Regions from separate parts of the Homo sapiens genome. Here regions 1, 2 and 3 are each linked to region 4. The links are contacts of gene promoters, found by promoter capture Hi-C in blood cells and fetal thymus (Javierre and others, 2016). All regions are on one chromosome and are shown on one strand. The core of a region is centred on a gene start or on the middle of the fragment in contact, and the rest is flanking DNA. Distances in the headings are between cores, read along the strand shown. Region 1 has its middle 11 kb from the start of LINC02145. Region 2 has its middle 12 kb from the start of MED10. Region 3 has its middle 110 kb from the start of LINC02114. Region 4 holds the start of ICE1 (interactor of little elongation complex ELL subunit 1).

Evidence for each region. Contacts are between HindIII fragments. The CHiCAGO score rates a contact against its expected background, and 5 or more counts as called.
Region 1: a fragment that was not itself captured here is called in contact with the fragment with the promoter of ICE1 in region 4 in 1 of 17 cell types (activated CD4 T cells); the score reaches 5.7 in activated CD4 T cells.
Region 2: a contact is called between a fragment that was not itself captured here and the fragment with the promoter of ICE1 in region 4, in 9 of 17 cell types (naive CD8 T cells, naive CD4 T cells, total CD8 T cells and 6 more). The highest score is 12.5, in naive CD8 T cells.
Region 3: a contact is called between a fragment that was not itself captured here and the fragment with the promoter of ICE1 in region 4, in 2 of 17 cell types (M1 macrophages and endothelial precursors). The highest score is 8.8, in M1 macrophages.

The regions. Positions count from the first base shown.
Region 1 is chr5:6,347,313-6,350,012 of GRCh38, forward strand. No RefSeq gene overlaps it. Among named protein-coding and RNA genes, the nearest start is that of LINC02145, 11 kb to the left of the region's middle. The HindIII fragment of the contact is 2,989 bases long and covers 1-2,700 here.
Region 2 is chr5:6,389,047-6,391,884 of GRCh38, forward strand. No RefSeq gene overlaps it. Among named protein-coding and RNA genes, the nearest start is that of MED10, 12 kb to the left of the region's middle. The HindIII fragment of the contact is 517 bases long and covers 1,035-1,551 here.
Region 3 is chr5:4,881,409-4,884,338 of GRCh38, forward strand. No RefSeq gene overlaps it. Among named protein-coding and RNA genes, the nearest start is that of LINC02114, 110 kb to the left of the region's middle. The HindIII fragment of the contact is 8,088 bases long and covers 1-2,930 here.
Region 4 is chr5:5,421,427-5,424,390 of GRCh38, forward strand. ICE1 (interactor of little elongation complex ELL subunit 1) reads left to right here and starts at 1,251. Exons shown (of 19, transcript NM_015325.3): 1 at 1,251-1,573. The coding sequence starts at 1,490. LOC101929200 (a long non-coding RNA gene) reads right to left here and starts at 703. Exons shown (of 6, transcript XR_001742583.3): 1 at 1-703. RefSeq lists enhancers at 1-497, 498-1,008, 874-1,123 and silencers at 1,154-1,483, 1,544-1,683. The HindIII fragment of the contact is 2,607 bases long and covers 1-1,770 here.

The sequences.
Region 1 (2,700 bases), core at 197-2,696, 930 kb after region 4:
CATCTGCCCACCTGCCGAGGCTTGCTCAGTGCCAGCCCTCTCTGCTGCGGCAGCTCCAGCCTCCGCATCCTCCAGTGTCCAGCACAAGCACAGTTTCCCCACCTGGACCCCATTGCTGGCCTTCCCATGCTGATTTGGAGTGACATCAAGACACTCACACAGTGGCCAAGGAGAAGTTGAAGGGAGGTTTCTGAATGCATCTTTCCTCCCAAACATGCTGAGCAGTTCTGCAGGGCAGAACCAGGTCACTGCACATCCCCGTGTGTCTTTATTACGATTGCTTATAAAATGAATAAACGGTCTCCCATCCGAGTACTAACCAGGCCCGACCTGTAGTCCCAGCTACTTGGGAGGCTGAGGCAGGAGAATTGCTTGAACCTGGAGCGCAGAGGACCGGCTCGAATGTGAAAACATGGGCAGGTATTTGCTAGCAAGACAGGGAACAAGCGGCTTCCTGATAATAGAAACAGAGGCGGGGGCGATGCTGAGACCTGACCCCACAGTGGTCCCTGAAGAACGAAGGGTGGGCACGGCGACGTGAGGGCCTGGGGGGCCCAGGGAATGCGGTGGGACCCTGGAGGGCACGTAGCCACGCTGGGCAATTGTGATTGGGCTGCCACGCTGGCCTCCAAGCATCGCTGAGCACAGGGGCCATGATCAGAGGTGTGTTTGCGCAAGGCCATTGCAGCAGGGTGAGGAGGGTAGATTTGGACGCGAGTGGGAATGAGGTGAGGGAGGGATGAGGGCGGGTCAGGTGGTTGCTGCGGTCAAGTCCTGGACAGCAGGAGCAGTCTCCAGGGGTGCCTCAGAGCGGACTCTAAAGGCCATCGTGTACATCTCCTCAGCTGCGGTACAGACTACCCCAAGCCAGGCAGCTTAAAACAACAGAAATGTATTCTCCCGCAATTCTGGACCGCTCGGGTCCAAAATCCAGGCGTCGACAGGGCCGTGCTAGGGCTGGAGGCTCTGGGGGAGAATCCAGAATCTGCTCCAGGTCTCTCTCCCAGCTCCCAGGGGTGCTGGGAGCCCTGGAGCCCTTTGGCTGTGGACTCATCCCTCGGATCTCTGCCTCTGCCGTCCGTGGCCTTCTCGCTGTGTGTGTTCACATCGTCTCCCTCCGCCTGTGCTGTCTCTGGGTCTCTTCTCCTCTTGTAAGGGTAGCATTCAGGGGCTTAGGGCCCACCTTAAACCAGTATAACCTCATCTTAACTTGATGACATCTGCAAAGATCCCATTTCCAAATAAGGCCACATTCACAGGTATCACGGGTTAGGGCTTCGACATGTCTTTGTTGGGGACCCAATACCACCCGTAAGAGGCCTGGTGCTTGGCGGGGGCTGCAGGAGGCAGGGCAGAGCAGGGCTTCAGCCAAGGGCCAGGTTGGCCCGGAAGCTGGTTCGATTCCCTGGAAGGGGCCGAGGGCAGGAGGTACTGTTCCGTGTGGCTTTGGGGCTTCCTGCTGCAACGGGCTCCGGGCAGAGAGGCCTCCGCTGCCTGCCAAGGTTTTAGTTGCTGCCGCTTCTCCCTTATGTTCCTCCAAATCTCCCGCTGCCCCCATCTGAACCTCAGAAGCATGCTATGGGGGCAGGGGTTCCCGGTCCTCAGCTTCAGGAGGCTGGATCTACTCCTAACTGGGGTAATCTGTTTGCTTCTTTCCCAGGGGACAGGTTCCCAAAAGGCGTACCCAGAGCAGAAAGCTGAACATCTAACCAGTCTCTGCCTCCTGATGCAGACCGATGTTGTGGGAAGACCCGAGAGTCAGGACCCAGGCGTGTGAGAGTCCAGCCCCAGTCCTGCCCTGCAGGGCCTGTTCCATCTCACCGGGCTCCAGTCTTCTCACCTAGAAAATGAGGGCTTCTGATGCAAAGTCTCTAAGGAGCTTTTCAGCTTTAAAGCGTTCTGAATCCCATTTTCCCGCTGACTGACATTCTAATTTCACAGCGGGCTTATCTCCCCCTCAGAAGGGTCTTCAGCCGCAGCAGGGCCTTCCGTTTTTGCTTAAATCGCTCTGACCTTTTTATCAAGCAGTTCATAAACGCCCTTGCGCTAGGAGCGGCCGTCGCCCTGTGGTCCCCGGAGAGGGTCCTCCGAGGACTCTGAAAGCCGCTTCCATGGTTGGCGCCGAGCACAGGCGGCTCCCTCTGGCTTCCGCAGGCACGGACGGGGTTTGCCCAGAGACACCCTGCTCAGCACTGCCAAGCTGGAAAACAAGTGGGTGGGGGCAGCCGCCGGGAGGGGCCAGCAAACCGGGCCCTCATCCAGGAGCAAATTCCACCTTCAGTGCCTCACTTTTATCTCCAGATGGGCGCGTCCTTGTGAGAAACCACAGTATTGTCCCTCACCCATGAAGGGAGGCGTGGACGTGATCCCAAAGCCCCTATGTTAGACGGTCCAGCCTCACCTGAGCAGTCACATGGACCTGCCCGGTCCTTTGACCTCAACACCACACACTTCCCACCCCTGCGGCAGGAAGGCGAGGCAGGAAGCATCCACACAAACCTGAGTATATCACAGTGGCACCACCAACGTGCCGGCTGCAAAGTTGATTTTCTAAACCAGAGGCAGCAAAATGGACCCGCTGGGGAATTCTTGTATCTTGCCTAGCATTTATATTAATATTTGGGGGTATCATTTAATTGATTAGTCATTACTGCATACAAGGTTATAAGAGTCGAGAAGTATAAAATCTATATGTTAAAA
Region 2 (2,838 bases), core at 43-2,542, 970 kb after region 4:
CTTCTTTGGTATATGACTTTGGCCCATTTCTAGAATTGTCTTGGTCTTCAGTGAGATGGAGCAGGGACTCCTCCTAGGGGCCTGCAGGTCACCCCCTGCCCAGTGAAGAAATAAAGAAAACTCTTAAGTTCCTTCAGGAAAAATTCCAGGCACCTAGCTCACACTGAAAAATAACTGAATAAACAAAAAGATAATAGTAGCTTAAAACAGTAGCCAAAAAAGTTAGTCAAGAGATATGTTATTCCCTATAAAAACTGAAAATAACACCTTAACATATGTCCCTGAGTTATTTTTCAAAAACCTGAACCCCCACCAAACAGATTTGCTAACACATAGACCTCAAATTAAGGGAAACTAAAAACTAAACTCTGGTCACTGTTCTTTGTTCTAAATTTCTTCCTAAGGGGCCTGGGAACGTCACACCCACAAGTTAGAGCTATCAGTTTGGTGCAAAAGTAATTGCAGGTTTTTTTTTTTTTTTTTTTTGCTGTTACTTTCAGTGGCAAAACGTGCAATTTTGCACCAACCTAATAACATTGTTTTCTGCTGATCCCACATTTTTAGACAAAGCTTTGCCTCCTTAGCCAATCACAGATCAGAAATCTTTAAATCCACCTATAACCTGTGGGCCCCCAACTTCCAGTTGTCCTACGTTTTTAGGTCAAACCAACGTATAGTCTCCATATTTGAATTTATGACTTTACTTGTAACCTCTGCCTCCACGTTGGTAAAAACCCTCACCTATGAGCCATCTGGGAGTTGGGTCTTGAACATGGGATGCCTGATTTTCCTTGCTTGGGGCCCTACATAAACGCCTCACTTTCTCTTGCTACTATCCCAACATCAGTCTTTGACTTCGCTGCACCCAGTGAACAGATCCCTGCTGGATTCACTTACATCAGATTTCTCCTCCTGGAAATAGAAGAAATGTGCCTATTGATGTGTGGAGCATCTCGCATGGCACCTGGAATGTAGAAGGCATTTGGTAAACGTGGCTTCCTTCTATCAGTTTCTACCCAAAATGTGCAAAGCCAAGCTTTCCTTTTTGTGCTGTATACTGGCTCCTTCTTCCAAAAATGTATTTGATGATGTCATTCCTCAACCTAAAACCTCCTGACATCACCCCGCTGTCTACACCAGGGATGTTAAAATCCTCTCTCTGCATAGCCCCATCCCCATGACCATGTACTCACTCTATTACCCCAATTCTCTGGGTGAGGCAGGAGGAGAGGAGTGGGTGCATGTGCCCCTGGCAGAGGGAAAGGATTCTCGGAGGGGTGAGACAAGTAGTGTGAAAAGAGTCGACCTCCAGGAAGCTGCTCTGCAGCCCTCATTTCTCCTTTGAGAATCGCTGGTCCTCAGAACAAGTTCTAAATCCTTACCACCTGATCTGATACCACCTTCCCACTGACCAGTGCCCTACAGCCTCATGGGACCCTCACCAATCCCGCCTCTTTGCCTTTGCTGGTTTCTTTTCTCTGCTTTAAAGTCTTCTTCCATACCTTCTGCTTTACTTGGGGAAATCTGAAATAAATGTCAGCATGTTGGTGAAGCTTTTGCTTACTGCCTCAGGCAGAATTAATAGCTTCCTGGTCAGCTCTGACACATCTGGGCCCTGTTCCCTCCTCAGAGGTAGAGAATCTGCTAGAGGCTGAGAACCGTCTCCACCTTTAGACAGAATGCGTTTAGTGGTTACTGCCTGCATCCCAATGAAACCTGCTCTGCCCTTCTGCCATAGAAATGGAATTGAAGCCAGACCCATTGCTACCCACTGTCTGTGTTTCCCGTTGGTATGGTTTGGCTGTGTCTTCCCACCATTCTCATCTTGGATTGTAGTTCCCATAATCCCCACGTGTCATGAGAGGGACTCGGTGGGAGGTAATTGAATCATGGGGGCAGTTTTCCCCATGCTATTCTCATGATGGTAAGTTCTCATGAGATCTGATGGTTTTATAAGGGGCTTCCCCCATCACTCGATTCTCATTCTTCTCTCTCCTGCTGTCTTGTGAAGAAGGATGTATTTGTGTCCCCTTCTGCCATGATTATAAGTTTCCCAAGGCCTCCCCAGACCTGTGGAACTGCGAGTCAATTAAACCTCTTTCCCTTATAAATTGCCCAGTCTCAGGTATGTCCTTATAGCAGTGTGAGAACAGACTAACACACCCAGGCTTCCCTGAAGTGAGCTGTGGCCTTTGCACTAAGGGATGGGAGCAGGAATGATGGGTATCTGCTCGGGGTGGGAACATGAGGCATCAGGTGCATCTTCTTCAGGCTGTCCCTGATGTGCTGGTGATTGGTCCCACCAGGCAGGTGACAGTACCCCAGAGCAGTGGAACACTCTGAGATAATAGAAGTGTTTTGAGATCTGTGCTGTCCAACACGCGAGCCACTAGACACTTGAGCTATGGCTAGTGCAACTAGGAACTGAAATTTCAATTGTCTTTAAATGTATTTAAATTAATTAAAATTAAAATAGTCACATGTCACCAGCGGCAACTGTATCAGCCAGTAGAGCCCCTGAGGATGGAGGAGCAATGGTTTGGAAGGAACATGGATCTTAGAATGCCCAGTGGAGCAGAGATTCTCCACCTAAATGGATTACTTATCTCAGAACAGTTGAGTGAGAGAAAAACAAGGCAATGTTTTAGGACAGTTAGGAAGATAGTATCAATAGTATGACATAATGGGTATATCAGGGACTTGGGGCTCACCTTTTGAGTTCAAATCCTAGCCCTACCACTTAATAACTGTATGGCCTTGGGCAAATGACTTCATTTCCGTGTGCCCCAGAATTCTCCTCACTGCACTGGGGACACTGAGTCCACGTATCACCTGGGT
Region 3 (2,930 bases), core at 357-2,856, 540 kb before region 4:
TCACATTTTATTCTCAGAGTCACTCTATGAAGTAGGTTTTATTAGGATCACTCCCATTTTACAGGTAGAGACACTGAGGCAAGTTATGTCCCCTGTCCAAGGTCGGAAAGCTAAAAGGTGACAGAGCCAGGGATGGCCTCCAAATAGACATGAGCCAGCTGAGCCCTGCAGCCCCAGACATACCTGCCCCGTGTTGCCCCTCCAGATGGACTCGGCACTCAACTCTGCCAGAAAATGCCCCGGGACATGTTTAATAGATGATTAGAACTAGTTGAAGTTTTATTTTTTGTGACTACTTTGAAAATGCAGGACTATCCAGAACACTAATAGAGGATGAACAAAACCAGCTGTTGATATGTGGACATCCGTCCCTCTCTAAAATACTTGGCCTGCCACACACCAGAGGGAGTTCTCACTGATCTTAGATTCCTCAGTATGCCAAAGATGAGATCTTCCTAAACTTTTTGCTATAATTTGAAGGAGCATGACAAGTGAGGGCAAAACAAATTATACAAAAATTCTGAGCTTCGCACACTTCCTATGTAGAATGTTAGCCATGCAAGTAGCCTGACAAGGGTAGCCACGCTAACCACCAGCCCTTCCCTGGCACTTACAAGGGTAGCCACACTAACCACCAGCCCTTCCCTGGCACTTACTGGGGTACTAATGCGCTGGTAAAGTTAGGAGAGTCTGGAATGGCATAGCCATAGATATTGCCCAATCTGCTCCCATGAACAATGTCCCCTGGCCAAGCCGCCCTGTTGCTTGGAATCAAGGAATCGGGTGCAATGTCAGCTGATCCCTGAGCAGTGGCCTTCCACAACCCCCAGCCCCTGAAATGATGCAAACAGGCAAATTGCATCTTCCTTCTGGAACCAGGGTCATCCCACCCTCTTGTTACTACACAGCCAGCCTGCCCCAGCCCCTGGGTGGATACTCAGTTCCTGAATGTGACTCTGTGGGGCCACATGACGCACGGTGTCTTCCATCCTGGGAATGTGAGTGGATGTGACTAACATACCACTGCCAGCTGCATCTGCCCCGTGCTGGTGTGTGTTTGGCCATCTTCATAAGCCTGGAGCAGGACTTCCTCCCTCACCAATGGGATGAGGAGGAGGCCATTGGAAGCTCTACTCACCAGGTCCTGCAGAAACTCACAGTCCTTGAGGAAGCAGCCAACTTGGAAACATAAGGCAAGAGAGAGGAGTCCCACACTGATGGCAGGCAGAGAAAACAGTGATTTCTGAAGCAAAGCTAAGAGAAGAGGTGACCTTTGAGATGGATGTTGAAGCCAAAAGAGGTGGTCCCCAGACAGACCCAGGGCTGGAGGGCCAGGCTGGAAGGGCATTTGTGGCACAGGACAACCACGTGCATGAATGTGACAACCAGGAGGCAGCTCAGGGCCCTGCTGTTGTGCCCTTTAGCACTCCACGGTGTGGAAGTGTCTGAATCCAGATTCTGGCAGTGTCTTTTCAGTCCACACTCTTGGGGGCAGCATCTGGGTATAAGCTCAGAGGTAGCATCACCCTAGGTGGCAGGAAAACATTAAAAGATGGTTCTGAGGCCTGATTGACAAGAACCTGCCAGTGTCCCACGGATAGGGTGGCTGGGCCTTGTTTGTCATCATGAAATGGTACAGGGTAGAGACTTATCTGAAAAGTTTGACTCCAGGCACTGTAGGTTGACTGTGTTGTTCACTGACCTCCCAATGTCTTCACGGGGTCTTTGATTACCTGCACTATAAAGTCTGTAGACCTTCAGCATCTCACTTCTGACAGAACTGTAGATGTAACTTTTCAGAATCCATATGAAATATTAACTACTACTCTGAGGGAGGTGAGGGGATTGCATTCTAGCACATTTTAAAATACAAACGGGGACACAAGCAAAGAAAGGCAATGTCCTCAGGCATCCAGTGCCGGGAACAAGACACATCTCAAGTGTGCAAGCCAAGGGTACCCCGTTATTATCACAGAGGAGCAGAGTTCAGCGGAGTAATAGAAGTGTCACCTTGGAAAGGCAGGGCTGGATGCATGCACAAATCAGGATGTGAATCCTGGATTCACATTCAGTGCATGATTCTCGCTCACATTACTGTGCCAATAACTTTAATTTAATAAGCCCATGTGTCAAGGGCCACTTCAGATCCGTCACAGCTGCTGCCTCCCCTCCCTGGTTCCTTGGAAAAGCTCAGTTCTCTGGCTGGCTGCTCCCTCCAGCATCCGCAGAAGGCTGTGTGCTCACACTAGCTGCCTGCACTGACACTTCTGGAGGAGGAACTCAGCATTTCCACAGGTCACTCTGGCTATGATGGCCCAACTCAACCCTCATGACAATGAGCGTGTACAAGGGTGTTCCTGGGGACCTTACCCTGCGGTGAGGAAAAGTGCTGAGCATGCAGGGAGAAAAAGAGAAAACAAATACACGAATCACTTTAATTTGATGCCCCAAATAAAAACTGCTCAAAATGACATTTAAAGGAGGCATTACAGGAGCAAGTTTTATGACTAACCCTTTTACCCAAGAGTAGGCAACAGAAGGGAGACAAAGGTTATTTTTAAGAAATAGTAATGTAATTTAAGAAAACAATATTGAAAATGAATTAATATTGGTACTAACATTTAACTGGGGCTTGCAGACAATAGGGAGGAGAAGCAGGTTTGCAATGGATGTGTTGCTTATGACCGTGCTGTTTATGACTGGCCTAACAAAGCCAGAAACCTGGCCAGGAGAAGGAACGATATTTTCCAAAACATCACAGACGATTCGGACCCTTAAGTGAATGGGTACAACAGAATCAGAGGAAAGGAAGGGTTTAGGTGACCATGAGGCATGGGGAGCATCACAAGGAGAGACATGGCAGAGCCAGCATTTCTTCAGGGCTGTGCCAGCCCCTAAGCACCTGAGCTTCCTGTGCGTGGGGTCCAGCC
Region 4 (2,964 bases), core at 1-2,500:
TCTATCACCGGCAGGTCCTCAGTTAGGTACACGCCTGTCTTGCTTGGGTGTCAACGACAGGAAACTTAGCTATCGCTGGATGTCTGCTTCCGCCACTCCACAGCAGGTGGTATCCAGAGTGTGTAAGCAAGGTCAGGGGTGCGAAATTTGGAGAAGAAAACTCAGAGAAAAATGCAGACTGCTTTTTTTGGAAGGGGTGTTTTCAGTTGCAATTTCCATACTGAGGAGCTAGAAATTGGCTGGTAAGGTCTAGACATTAACTTAACTAAACGTGCATTCCTCCTCTTGAATTTGGACTTTATAAGGAATTTGGATTGTATAACCACACGATGGAAGCTGCGAGAGGCTTCTGAACAAGGTACTGACGGCGACCAGCTGTGATGACTAAAAAGACGATTCTGGTGGTGGTGGATACGGTGGCTGGAGATAAGAAAAACCTCGGTTCAAACGAGATCTGAATTTACCCACTAACTACGACCACGAGGAGTTTATTCCTTTATCTTTCCGTTTTCTCTCTCTCCCGAGAAGTGTCAAAAACAGGATTTGGAGGTGGCAGGATAATGGCCAAAATGGGTAGACAAGGTGGCGAACGATTCAACCAGGCTCTGGGCTTGGCGCATGGTGGGCGGTGGCGCCCACACCTGGGCCTGGGAACCCGCCGCTCGGGCATCACTGGCTGCCGCGGCGACCGGCGAGGACACATGACCGAGGAGCGAAAGGTCAGAAGACAAGGGGACTGTTACAGGAGCAGGGGAGCCGCCACTGGCTGCTAAGGCCGTGCAACTGGCGCCGAAGCGCACGATCTCCGCCCGCCCCGCAGCGCGTCGGGAACTGTAGTCCCTCCCTCTCCTGCTCCCTGGCCCAGGACGGGCTCCGGGACAGCGCCTATCCCTCTAGCTGTAAATCACGCACTTTCCTGTCCTGGACGCCGGGTCCTTCCACTTCTCAGGCGTCTGGAGCTTACGTCACGGGCGGGTCACCGCCCACATAGCGGAGGCCTTTAGGTGTCTATGGAAAGCCTGTCGTACAGCAAGGTGGCAATAAAGGATCGACCCTTAACAGTGGTAGGAATGCACCTTCGATCCTTCTACTCCTATTGGCTGCTCCTCTGTGGGCGTCTCCCCCGCCGCATAGCACAGCTCCTCTCCCGGTGTTGCTCAGGCAGCGCCTTAGGCAGCCCCGCGCCCAGGGGAGGGGCGGGGCGAGCCAGGGCGGGGCGGGGCGAGCCAGGGCGGGGCGGGGCCCTGACTGGACTGCGTCGCGCTCGGGGGCCGCGCCGGGTAGCGTTTCTTTTTAGTGCCTGAGGCAGCTCTGGCTCGGAGAGCCTTTTGCTAGCCCCACGGGGACCTCTGTGCACGGATGGACCCGCCCGGACCTGGCGGGAAGCGGCCTGGCAGGCGGCGGCCCCGGCGGCATCAGCAGAGACAGGACGGGGCCGACGCCGCGGGCCCCTGAGGCGTGCGTGCCCACCGGGCCCGGCGGCGGCACCATGATGCCGGGCGAGACCCATTCGGCGGCGCCCGGGACGGCGGCGGACCTGTCGCGATGTCAGGGCTGCGCCTCTCTGCAGCAGGTGCAGCACCTCCCGGGGCCCCGGGCGCGGGGGGGGACTCGGCTCGGCCGGCCGGGAGCGCAGGGATGTGGGGTCCGGCCGCGCGGGCTGTGCCTCAGTGCGCTGCTCTCCCTTCCCAACCGTAGCTCTTGCTCGCTCGTCTCTCTGCTCTCTTTTTCCTACATGAGTTTTGGGGACGGCTTTCTTTGCTTTATTTAAGCTTGAAACCCAGAGTTCATTGACTGGAATGCGCTGGTGTAACGGTGGGGGTGGAGTAAGCGAGGTTTGGAGGGCCCCCCACCTTCCCTACCCGGCCTCGGAGCTCCCTAGGGCAGACTCCGTAGGTCAGTGAGGGACAGGTGAAACGCCGAGGGCAGTTATCTCCCTGAGGATAACGCTTTGGTCTTCTGGCCCATCCTGAGTATTTGTTGTTTGGAGGCAGAATCTTACGTGACATGTGGGTTGTCTGAGTCTTAGACTCGAAGAGTCTAGGGAGGCGTTTCAGCTTATAGCAGATGTGCCATCCCGAGGCTAATTTTTTAAAAAGCAAGCCAAGTAATTGGTCAAGTAGCTTGTCAGTTGTTTGATAAAAGTAGTTTATGAAAGGCATGCAGAGACTGGAGGTTTCTAACAGCGGCGTGGGCTCTTCTTTAGAGTGACATAAGGGAGAATTGCTAGAGTATGGCTCCAGATCTTATGGGGTGGTACTTGGGCAATAGTGCCCCTCATTTCCCACGACTCTCCTAGCTGCCTGATGTCGGGGGTCTCTTTTAACTTCCTACTATCGCGGTTTCAGTGATAAAACGGAACTCACCAGCACCTCATTACCTACTCTGCCTAGTGTTCTAGGAACTACAGACATTGTGGTGAACAAAATAGGATCTCTCATAAGTAAGATGCATATGTGTGAATAAGGCCTCAGAAGATTTTAGGTGTTAGAAAATAAAGGAGGATGTTGGAATATTGGTCTTGTCTCTTAGCTAGAGTAGTCAGGTAGGGAATTTTTGAGTCAGTAACTTTCAGATATTTGAATAATGGGAAGGATCGGGCTGTCAGAAGAGATGTGGGAAGAGCTTCCTGGATAGAGGGATTAACAGGTGGAAAGGTTCCTTTGGTGAGAAGGAGCAGGGTGTCTTTGATGAGCAGAACATGGTATGGTTGGCATGAGCATAGTGCACACGGAAGATGGTTGATGAGACCAGACGGGAGTGCAGGCTAGGTAGGCCATGCCGAGAAACTTGGTTTGCATTTTAAGTGCAATATCTGTGAACTGATTGCAAACATTTTAAGTGTTGAAGGAAGGGGAGGAAGGAAATGTGCTGCTTTTGTGAGTAGAAGGAGAACTAACAGATCATTGCCTTCACTGAGCTGCATTGTGTAGGTATCTTATAACGCCCCCCCGCCCCCGCCAC